Linked DNA regions of Homo sapiens: regions 1 and 2 are each linked to region 3. Evidence: promoter capture Hi-C in 16 types of primary human blood cells and fetal thymus (Javierre and others, 2016). All regions are on one chromosome and are shown on one strand. The core of a region is centred on a gene start or on the middle of the fragment in contact, and the rest is flanking DNA. Distances in the headings are between cores, read along the strand shown.

What was found. Contacts are between HindIII fragments. The CHiCAGO score rates a contact against its expected background, and 5 or more counts as called.
Region 1: a contact is called between the fragment with the promoter of SERTAD1 here and the fragment with the promoter of PSMC4 in region 3, in 1 of 17 cell types (naive B cells). The highest score is 5.1, in naive B cells.
Region 2: a fragment that was not itself captured here is called in contact with the fragment with the promoter of PSMC4 in region 3 in 2 of 17 cell types (naive CD4 T cells and total CD4 T cells); the score reaches 6.9 in naive CD4 T cells.

What each region holds. Positions count from the first base shown.
Region 1 is chr19:40,424,498-40,427,558 of GRCh38, forward strand. SERTAD1 (SERTA domain containing 1) reads right to left here and starts at 1,495. Exons shown (of 2, transcript NM_013376.4): 1 at 1,370-1,495. RefSeq lists an enhancer at 18-820 and a silencer at 863-952. The HindIII fragment of the contact is 9,774 bases long and covers 1-1,780 here.
Region 2 is chr19:39,541,120-39,544,294 of GRCh38, forward strand. No RefSeq gene overlaps it. Among named protein-coding and RNA genes, the nearest start is that of EID2, 2.5 kb to the left of the region's middle. The HindIII fragment of the contact is 4,487 bases long and covers 1-3,175 here.
Region 3 is chr19:39,969,796-39,972,608 of GRCh38, forward strand. It overlaps PSMC4 (proteasome 26S subunit, ATPase 4), which reads left to right and starts at 1,370. Exons shown (of 11, transcript NM_006503.4): 1 at 1,370-1,443; 2 at 2,351-2,449; 3 at 2,574-2,760. The coding sequence starts at 1,408. It overlaps LOC124904720 (a long non-coding RNA gene), which reads right to left and starts at 1,176. Exons shown (of 3, transcript XR_007067260.1): 1 at 1,085-1,176; 2 at 559-641. RefSeq lists enhancers at 690-739, 1,240-1,629, 1,654-2,333. The HindIII fragment of the contact is 1,611 bases long and covers 686-2,296 here.

The DNA.
Region 1 (3,061 bases), core at 245-2,744, 450 kb after region 3:
TATTGTCTACTATGACTATGTTTCAAACAGTAAATAAATAAGGAAACACAGGAAATGTACAGAGAATTACAGGAAGACACTAAAAGTTCCTAGAGACCTTTTAGATCATCAGAGAAGGCTCCTGTAAGGAGGTGACATTTGAATGGAGCCCTCAGGCCAGAGAAGTCAGCCATGGGAGACCCTGGGAAAAGCATTCCGGGAGGAGGGAACAACAAAAAAAGGCAGAGAAAAGCCCAGAGGCTGGATGGGCTTGAACTGGAAAGAGACCAGCATGGGTGGCACACAGAGAGTGACATGGTAGGAGACCAGATTGGGGAGCAGCTAGGGGAACGGGCACAAGCCAGGTCACAGAAAGCCACATATGCAGAAGTAGGGAGTTTGGATTTTATCCTGAGTGTGGTGGGCAGTCATTAAAGGAATTTGAGCAGGGAGGGAATGGTGCTGTGAGCTGATTAGGTTTCCGGAAGATCCCCCCCATGGCTGCTTCGAGGAAGACTGTGGGGGGCAAAAAGAGGGGGGATCTGAGACCCACTGGTAGGCTGTACTCGTTTGGGACGGACGATGGTGATGGCCTGGAGTAGGAGCTGGTAGTGGCATGGAAGGAAGTCGGTCGAGTCAGGACTTATTTGGGAGGCAGAATAGACAGGGCTTGTCGGGAAATCGTGATCGGCACCGGGTTCAGTCACTGAGATAAGTTTGAGGGTCCACTGTTCTTGGAGTGGCGGGGGTAGGGCTGGAGTTTTGGACTCCTGGCGCTACCTACTTTTTTGGGCCAGGAAGACTGTAGAGTCCAGTTTCGGAACCCTGCCTAGCAAGATTTTAAGAATGGCCCACCACACTACTCAAAACAGGGTCTTCGTCCCCTTCCCCGCAGTCCGGGGAGTCCGGAACCGCAGGAATTCCGCCCCCACCCCCGACTCCGCCCCCGGGTCCCGGCGCCCCCTAGCGGTGCCCAGGCCGGCTTTCCCCCGGGGATTCTGGCCCCTCTGACCCCAGGACCCCTTCTACTGCCCCGATTCCCGGCTGTGATTCCTGCCGGCCTCCCGGCGCCGTGCGAGCCGGGACCCCTGGCGGGCTGTTCTCTGCGCCCGGCCTCCGCTCGCTTCCGGCAGTGGAGGCGGCTCCTCCCGAAGCGGCGGCGGCGGGGGCGGGTGAGTCACGCAGCCGGAGCCAAGAAGCCGGCGCCTCCGCCCCCTTCTCGGACTGCGGCGTGATTCACCCGGCCCGGCCGGGGCAGACAGCACGTAGAGGTCCGTGCGTCTCGATCCCGGGCAGCCCCGGCGGGCACCTGTCGGACCCAGGGATCGAACTCTGTGAAGGACCCGGCCGCTGGTAGCCCTTCTGTTCCCAGGCCCCTTCATTTACATACCTTGCTCACTAGCGGCCAATCAGAACGAAGAGGTAGCCACCCACAACCAATCAGGAAACGGCGGCGGCAGCATCGCTTGTTGGCTGTCCTCCGGAAACCCGCGCCTGGGTCGCGAGACGCAGTTCTGACTCCGGCTCACGACTCCAGACTCCTAACTACCCTTAGCGACCGCCCACTCTCGTGGCTGCCCCGCCCTCCGCCCCAGGGATTGGCCCTGCATGGTGATGGGCGGAGCTTGTAGGGGGCGGATTCTGAAGGAGGGGCTTCAGGGCGCATGCCCGGGCAGCTGCGCGAGTGAGGGGTGGAAAGAGGTGGCTTTTTACTCCGGGGAACGGTGGCGAGTGGGGGCTTTTGCCTCTCAAAATACGAGCCCCTCACAACTACCCATGCACCTGCCAAACCCGGCAATTAAGCTTCTTACACATCCAGCCCCGACAGGGGTCTACACTACAGATAATGCCCGGGTTCAAATTCCGACTCCGGATTCCCCACTCACTGGATGCGTGACCTTGGAAAAATGATCAACCTCTTCAAGCTACACAAAGTTAAATGGGGATCGTCTTGCCTACCTCTTGACAGGATACTTTAAGTAGGATCGTATCTATAAGAACACAATACCACACTCAAGCAATGCTGGACAGTTGGACTTAATTGTGGTTAAAGGCGGGAGTGAGGTGGGAGTGCGATACCAACGGAATCACATCCCGGGCTCCATTCCCTAAGCAGCTGTGTGACCTGCGGCAAGTGTTTTAATCCCTTCTGGTCTGTTTCTCCTTTAAAATGAGAGAAAATAGCGCCTAGTTTACAGGATTGTTTTTAAGGATTAAATTAATTCATGAAAAATCTTCAGAGTGGGGTGCAACATGTTTTGTGTTTTTTTTTTTTTTTTCATTTTATTTATTTATTTATTTATTTATTTGAGACAGATTCTCACTCCGTCGCCCAGGCTGGAGTGCAGGGGCACGATCTCGGTTCACTGTAACCTCCGCCTCCCAGGTTCAAGCAATTATCCTGCCTCAGCCTCCCGAGTAGCTGGGACTACAGGCGTGCGCCACCACGCCCGGTTAATTTTTGTATTTTTAGTAGAGATGGGGTTTCACCATGTTAGCCAGGCAGGTCTCAAACTCCTCACCTCAGGTGATCCGCCCTCCTCGGCCCCTGAGTGTTGGGATTACAGGCGTGAGCTACCGCGCCCAGCTGCTTATTATTTTTTTCTTTACTTTTTATTTTATTTTATTTTGCTTTTGAGACAGGGTCTCGCTCTGTCACCCAGGCTGAAGTGCAGGGGTGCCATCTCGGCTCACTGCAGCCTCCCAGGTTCAAGCCATCCTCCTGCCTCAGACCCCCAAGCAGCTGGGACTACAGGCGCACACCACCATGCCTGGTTAGCAACGTTGTTTCTTTGTTAGTAGTAATAGCTGTTGTAATAAGACAAGCTCTTAGTTCAAGGTGGATAGACATGCAGGATGGGGCTAGAGGTAGACAGGGTATAATACTCCTCCCATGGCCGGATGCAGTGGCTCACGCCTGAATACTCTCTCACCTAGATTTAATTGATAGTTGTTAGCTAGGCAACAACTGTAATCCAGTACTTTGGGAGGCCAAGGCAGGAGGGTCACTTGAGTCCAGGAGTTCACTTGAGTCCAGCCTGGGCAACACAGTGAGATCTCATCACTACAAAAAAATTTAAGA
Region 2 (3,175 bases), core at 449-2,948, 430 kb before region 3:
GACCCCGCCTCTACATTCTGTTCCCTTATTGTGACCTTCTAGGTGGATGAGCCCTGCAGTTTGTTATATTTGCAGGCTGGCTGCCAGTACTTAGATTTATCATGCCTCAGAAATGGACCATTTAAAATGTTTTCTCACATACACACTTGTATCTGTTTTTTTGTGCATTATTTTTATGAGATTCATCCATTCACATTTTCTCTTCCTCCCTCCCTCCCTCACTCCCTTCCTTCCTTCCTTCCTTCATTCCTTCTTTCTTTCATCTCATTCTGTTACCCAGACTGGAGTGCAGTGGCACAATCACAGCTCAACGTGGCCTCAACCTTCCGAGCTCAAATAATCCTCCCACTTCAGTCTCCTGAGTACCTGGGACTACAGGTGTACACCACCACACCCAGTTAATTTTTAATTTTTTTGTAGAGACAGGGTCTCCTTATGTTGCCCAGGCTGGTCTCAAAGTCCTGGGCTCAAACGACCCGCCTGTCTCAGCCTCCCAAAGTGCTGGGATTATAGGGTGAGCCAGAGCACTCGGCCTCCAGCCTACATTTTCATTATGGTTTATAAATACTTTATTTTCTTGATAGTTATTATATTCATTACCATTTTTTTTATGAAGTCTCGCTCTGTTGCCCAAGCTGAAGTACAGTGGTGTGATCTTGGGTCACTGCAACCTCTGCCTCCCAGTTCCAGTGATTCTCCTGCCTCAGCCTCCTGAGTAGCTGGGATTACAGGTGCGCGCCACCATGCCCGGCTAATTTTTGTATTTTTAGTAGAGACAGGGTTTTATTATATTGGCCAGGCTGGTCTCGAACTCCTGACCTCATGATCCGCCAGGCTTTGGCCTCCCAAAGTGCTGATATTACAGGCGTGAACCACTGTGCCCGGCTTATTACCATTCTTTTATGGATCTTGTAATATTAAAACATGCATCTTATATACTGACTCTCCAATTAATTTCCCTTTGTTCTGATTAATGTGAACAAACAAAATAATTTGATTTGATTTTGCTGGTGGTGGTCCCCGTCATGATGCCATGATTCATGACCATCAACAAATGACTTAAGTGACTTATCGTTCTCTGCCCTATCAGAAGTAGCTATTCTGAGGCAGTAAGGTCTCATCCACAGAGCACAAGACTGCATTTTAATTTTCCTGGTCCAAGCACCAAATTAATAAAACACAACAGCTAGTCTACTTGCTGCTTCCCACCAGCATCTCTGCAATCACTAAGTGTGCGGCTCCTTTAAGGCAGCTCCCAGGCTAGGCTGGAGACAGATCTATTGTTCTCACCCTCAGGCTGCCTGGAGAGTCACAAATATTTAACAAAGGAAGTTCCAGACTTAGGTGACAACATATATTATCACAGGAAGAAGTAGAAATCATAGTAATTTGCTGTAATCCTACAGAAGCGGATATAATCTTGTTCTCTGGACTAAGAGTCACCTTACAGCAGAAGCTGAAAGGCCCTCTGATTTTCTAAGAATAGAAATTGCTCTAAGTAAAATGATGGTTTATTAGATCCGGAAGTGATATAAAAATGGTTCTAGGAAAATGAAGTGAACTAAAATAAGAAGCTACAAATAGAGGAAGGCAGAAAAACTTGGTGATAATGTGAGGGGATACAAACAAAAATTTGAGAGGTAGTCCAGGTTTGCTGTTGCTCCCAAGACTGTGCCTGCGGTGGCTGCAGCATCTTTGTAATTCACTGCCACTATTTCGGGATGACTTGAGGATGATTGTAACCATGTTGTAGACTAAACCATTAAGGCAGCTGGGATCAGGGGCTCCATATTGCTTAAAATCTTTACAGCAGAGGTGTGTGTGTGTGTGTGTGTGTGTGTGTGTGTGTGTGAGAGAGAGAGAGAGAGAGAGAATTTGAATCCAATTAATATATATATTTTGAGAGAGTCTGGCTCTGTCATCCAGGCTGGAGTACAGTGGCGCGATATCTTGGTTCACTGCAACCTCCACCTTCCAGGTTCAAGTGATTCTCCTGGAGAATCCCGCCACTGCACTCCAGCCTGGGTGACACAGTGAGATTCTGTCTAGAAAAAGAAAAAAAAAAGACATAGATTCTTGGCTGGGCGTGGTGGCTCATGCCTGTAATCTCAGCACTATGGGAGGCCAAGACAGGAGGACTGCTCGAGGCCAGGATTTCCAGACCAGGCCTGGGCAACATAGCAAGACCCTGTCTCTAAAAGAAGAAATTAGCCAGACATGGTAGTGTGTGGCTAGCTACTCAGGAAGCTGAAGCAGGAGGATCATTTGAGCCCAGGAGTTCAGGGCTACAATGAGCCATGATTGTGCCACTGCACTCCAGCTTGGATGACAGAGTAAGACTCTGTCTCAATAATAATTAGAAAAAAGAAGTAGATTTTTTTTCTCCATCCTTTGAATGAGAACTGGTTTATGACTTGTTTGACCCATAAGATGTGGTAGAAATGATGGTTCATCAGTTTCAAGACTAGTGCTCATGAGGAATTTCATACTTCTCATTCTCTCTCTAACTCTATAACTCATCTCCACCATGAGGACAAGTCTGGACCAGCTTTCTGGAGGGTGGAAGACCATTCAGAGTGGAGGAATGTGGTCTCAGACAAGGCATTCAAAATCAGTCAGTCTGGCTGGGCTCAGTGGCTCACGCCTGTAAACCCAGCACTTTGAGAGGCCGAGGTGGGCAGATCACCTGAGGTCAGGAGTTTGAGACCAGCCCGGCCAACATGGTGAAACCTTGTCTCTCCTAAAAAATACAAAAATAAGTTGGGCTTGATGGTGCGTGTCTGTAGTCCCAGGAGGTTGAGGCAGGAGAATCGCTTGAACCCAGGAGGCAAAGGCAGTGAGCCAAGATTGCACCACTGCACTCTGGCCTGGGCAACAAAGTAAGACTCTGCCTCAAAAAAAAAAAAAAAATCAGTCAGTCCCCAGCTGACCTACCAACTGACTCTTAGATGCATAGGCTCAATAAGTGCTTCTTGTTTTATGCCACAGTGTTTGATATGATTTGCTATGCAGTATCATTGTGGCAATAGATAACTGTTAGCTAACGGTTGCAGAAATTGGTACCAGGAGCTGGGCACTGCCCTAACAAAATCCTCAAGTATGTGCCAGTGGCCTTGGCACTGCATAGTGGATGAAAGGTAGAAAATCACAAAGGAAACTGTTAGCAAAGCTGCAG
Region 3 (2,813 bases), core at 120-2,619:
ATAGCTTGAGGCCAGCAGTTGGAGACTCTAGTGAGCTATGATCGTGCCACTGCACTCCAGCCTGGGCGACAGAGACTCTAGCTCTTAAAAAAAAAAGAAAAAAACAGATGAATGATAACCTTTAGAAGGGATCGGGAGGCCGGATGTGGTGGCTCACGCCTATAATCCCAGCACTTTGGGAGGCCAAGGCAGGCAGATCACTTGAGGTCAGGAGTTTGTGACCGGCCTGGCCAACATGGTGAAACCCTGTCTCTACTAAAAATACAAATATTAGCCTGGGCAACAGAGTGAGACTCCGTCTCGGGGCGGGGAGTGGAGGGGGGAGAAGAAGGGATGGGGGAAAGGGGAGCACATGAGGCTTCTACTGTTTGGTTTTGCGATCTGGATTCAGGTTGTATGGGCATGTTCACTTTGTGTAATTTTGTCGAGCTGTAATGATTTGTGCTCTTCTCTTTATTTAACTTCAATAAAAGGTTTACTTAACAAAAATTGTAGCTGGTGTGAAGGGTAGCAGTGTTTCCCTGGGGCCAAGAGTACAGGCTTTGGGGACAGACAGACCTGGGTCCCAATCTATGCTTTGTCCCTTCGGCACATTGTTGACTGTGGCTGGTGGCTTCGTGGCTCTGAGCTTGTCTCCTTCTCTATAAATGAGGAAACATAATACTTGCGACGATGATGCCTGTAAAGCTTAAGCGCAGGACCTGGCATAGATCTGTAAGGCGGAAACCTGGGATACAGAACTAAGGTCTATGGATCTCCTGTGCTACCCAACTTCTGGGCACTCGCTGCCTCCTTTTCCCCAGCCCAGACGCGTGGGTTCTACTCGATTGGTTGCTCACTGCGGGCTCGGGGCTCCTCAATCCCGGGGTAAAGCCCAGTATGAAATGTCACCTTCAGGGGCAGCTCGGATCTTCCCACGCCCGCGCGGCGCACAATCTTTGGATCAGCGCCACGTGGAGACCTTACCCGCCCGTACGATCAATCCCTTCTGTGGAACCCAGCTCAAGGACCCTCCAGCCCAGACACTAGAAAGCGAAGAGCAGTTGGCCGCCAGACTGTCCGTGCCAGAGCTCTGCGAACTTACTCCGTTGAAAGAGCAACGGGGCTGCGCCACCTCCCGGAGAGAACCCCCAGCCCTCCACGGCAGGGCGAGATGGCGCCACCGCGTGATACTGCGCACGCCCACAGCTCCCGTCCCGCCCTCGCGCCTGCGGGTACGGACAGCGCATGAGCTTATGTTGAGGGCGGAGCCCAGACCAGCCCTTCGTCCTATCCTGCCCTTCCAGCACCTCTCAGCCGTAACTTAAACTACACTTCCCAGAAGCCTCCTCAGCCAGGGACTTCCGTTGTCGTCAGCGGAAGCGGTGACAGATCATCCCAGGCCACACAGAGGCCGGCTTGGTCACTATGGAGGAGATAGGCATCTTGGTGGAGAAGGCTCAGGTACAGTGGGGACTTGGGCTTTTTAGTCCGGGCCGGGCTCGCGGGGAGAGGGTGAAGCCAGACCTGAGTGGGGGGAGGAATGGCTTCCAGGACCCCGGCCCAGGTTGGGGTTATTTTAGAGGCCTCGGTGGAGAGCTTTGTGCCATTCGAAGGCCTGTCTGGGTGGCCGAGTGATGGTAGGAGGTAAGGCTCAGAAAGCGGGGCTGGGGGAGTGAGTGACGTTAGTGGGTCTTTGAGACGGATTGATTTCGAACCCTGGCCGGTAGTGCTTAGTGAGGTCGGTGGCCCGGCGTTGGGATTGGGTCAGGCGGTGAGTGATATATGGGATCCCGCCGTGCGGCCGAGTGATCCCCGGGTCTGGGCTGCGGGGCTGACTGATGTTCAGGGCTTTGCTGATGGGGGTAATGGGGCGGGTAGTTAAGTATTATCTGTGGCTTGCCTGAGTGATATTTAGGTCTAAGGTGAGTTAGGAGACTGTGACATAAGGGATCTTTGAGGGGAAACTGGGGAATGTTGGGACTCGTTGAAGGCGCAGTCACTTTAACAGCCTATCTAGGAGAGCCATGTGACATTAGGAACCTCTTGAAGGGGATTGGGTGGCATTTGGGTCTGATAAGGAGTTGATGTGACGTTTAGATCCTAGTTGGGGGTTGTGTGACACTGGGGACATGTTATGAGTGGTATATGATAACATAAGATCTGTTTGAGGGGCAAGTTGACATAAAGAGCTTGTTTAGGTGGCCAAAAGGTTTCCAGGATCTATTTAGAGGGTCTTAAGATATCAGGGGTCTGTTAGGGGCTAAGTGACATCAGGGTGAAGTGGGGAGGGGAACAAACATTAGTGAAGTTGGGAAGCTTTCATGAGAGGACTGTCTTCTTCCAATGTGAGTTATCCCCTTTCGTCTAGGATGAGATCCCAGCACTGTCCGTGTCCCGGCCCCAGACCGGCCTGTCCTTCCTGGGCCCTGAGCCTGAGGACCTGGAGGACCTGTACAGCCGCTACAAGGTACATTCGACCCCCAACCCAGACCTTGCACAGGACCTGACATCTCATACTCTTCCCCACTTTCCACCACTCTCTGGATCAGCAAGTCTGGAGCCATCCCCTTCTGTCCCCTCTCTGCTCGCAGAAGCTGCAGCAAGAGCTGGAGTTCCTGGAGGTGCAGGAGGAATACATCAAAGATGAGCAAAAGAACCTGAAAAAGGAATTTCTCCATGCCCAGGAGGAGGTGAAGCGAATCCAAAGCATCCCGCTGGTCATCGGACAATTTCTGGAGGCTGTGGATCAGAATACAGCCATCGTGGGCTCTACCACAGGTGTGCTAAGGACACCTCATTCATTCATCTGTCCACTTAACAACTATTTCCTA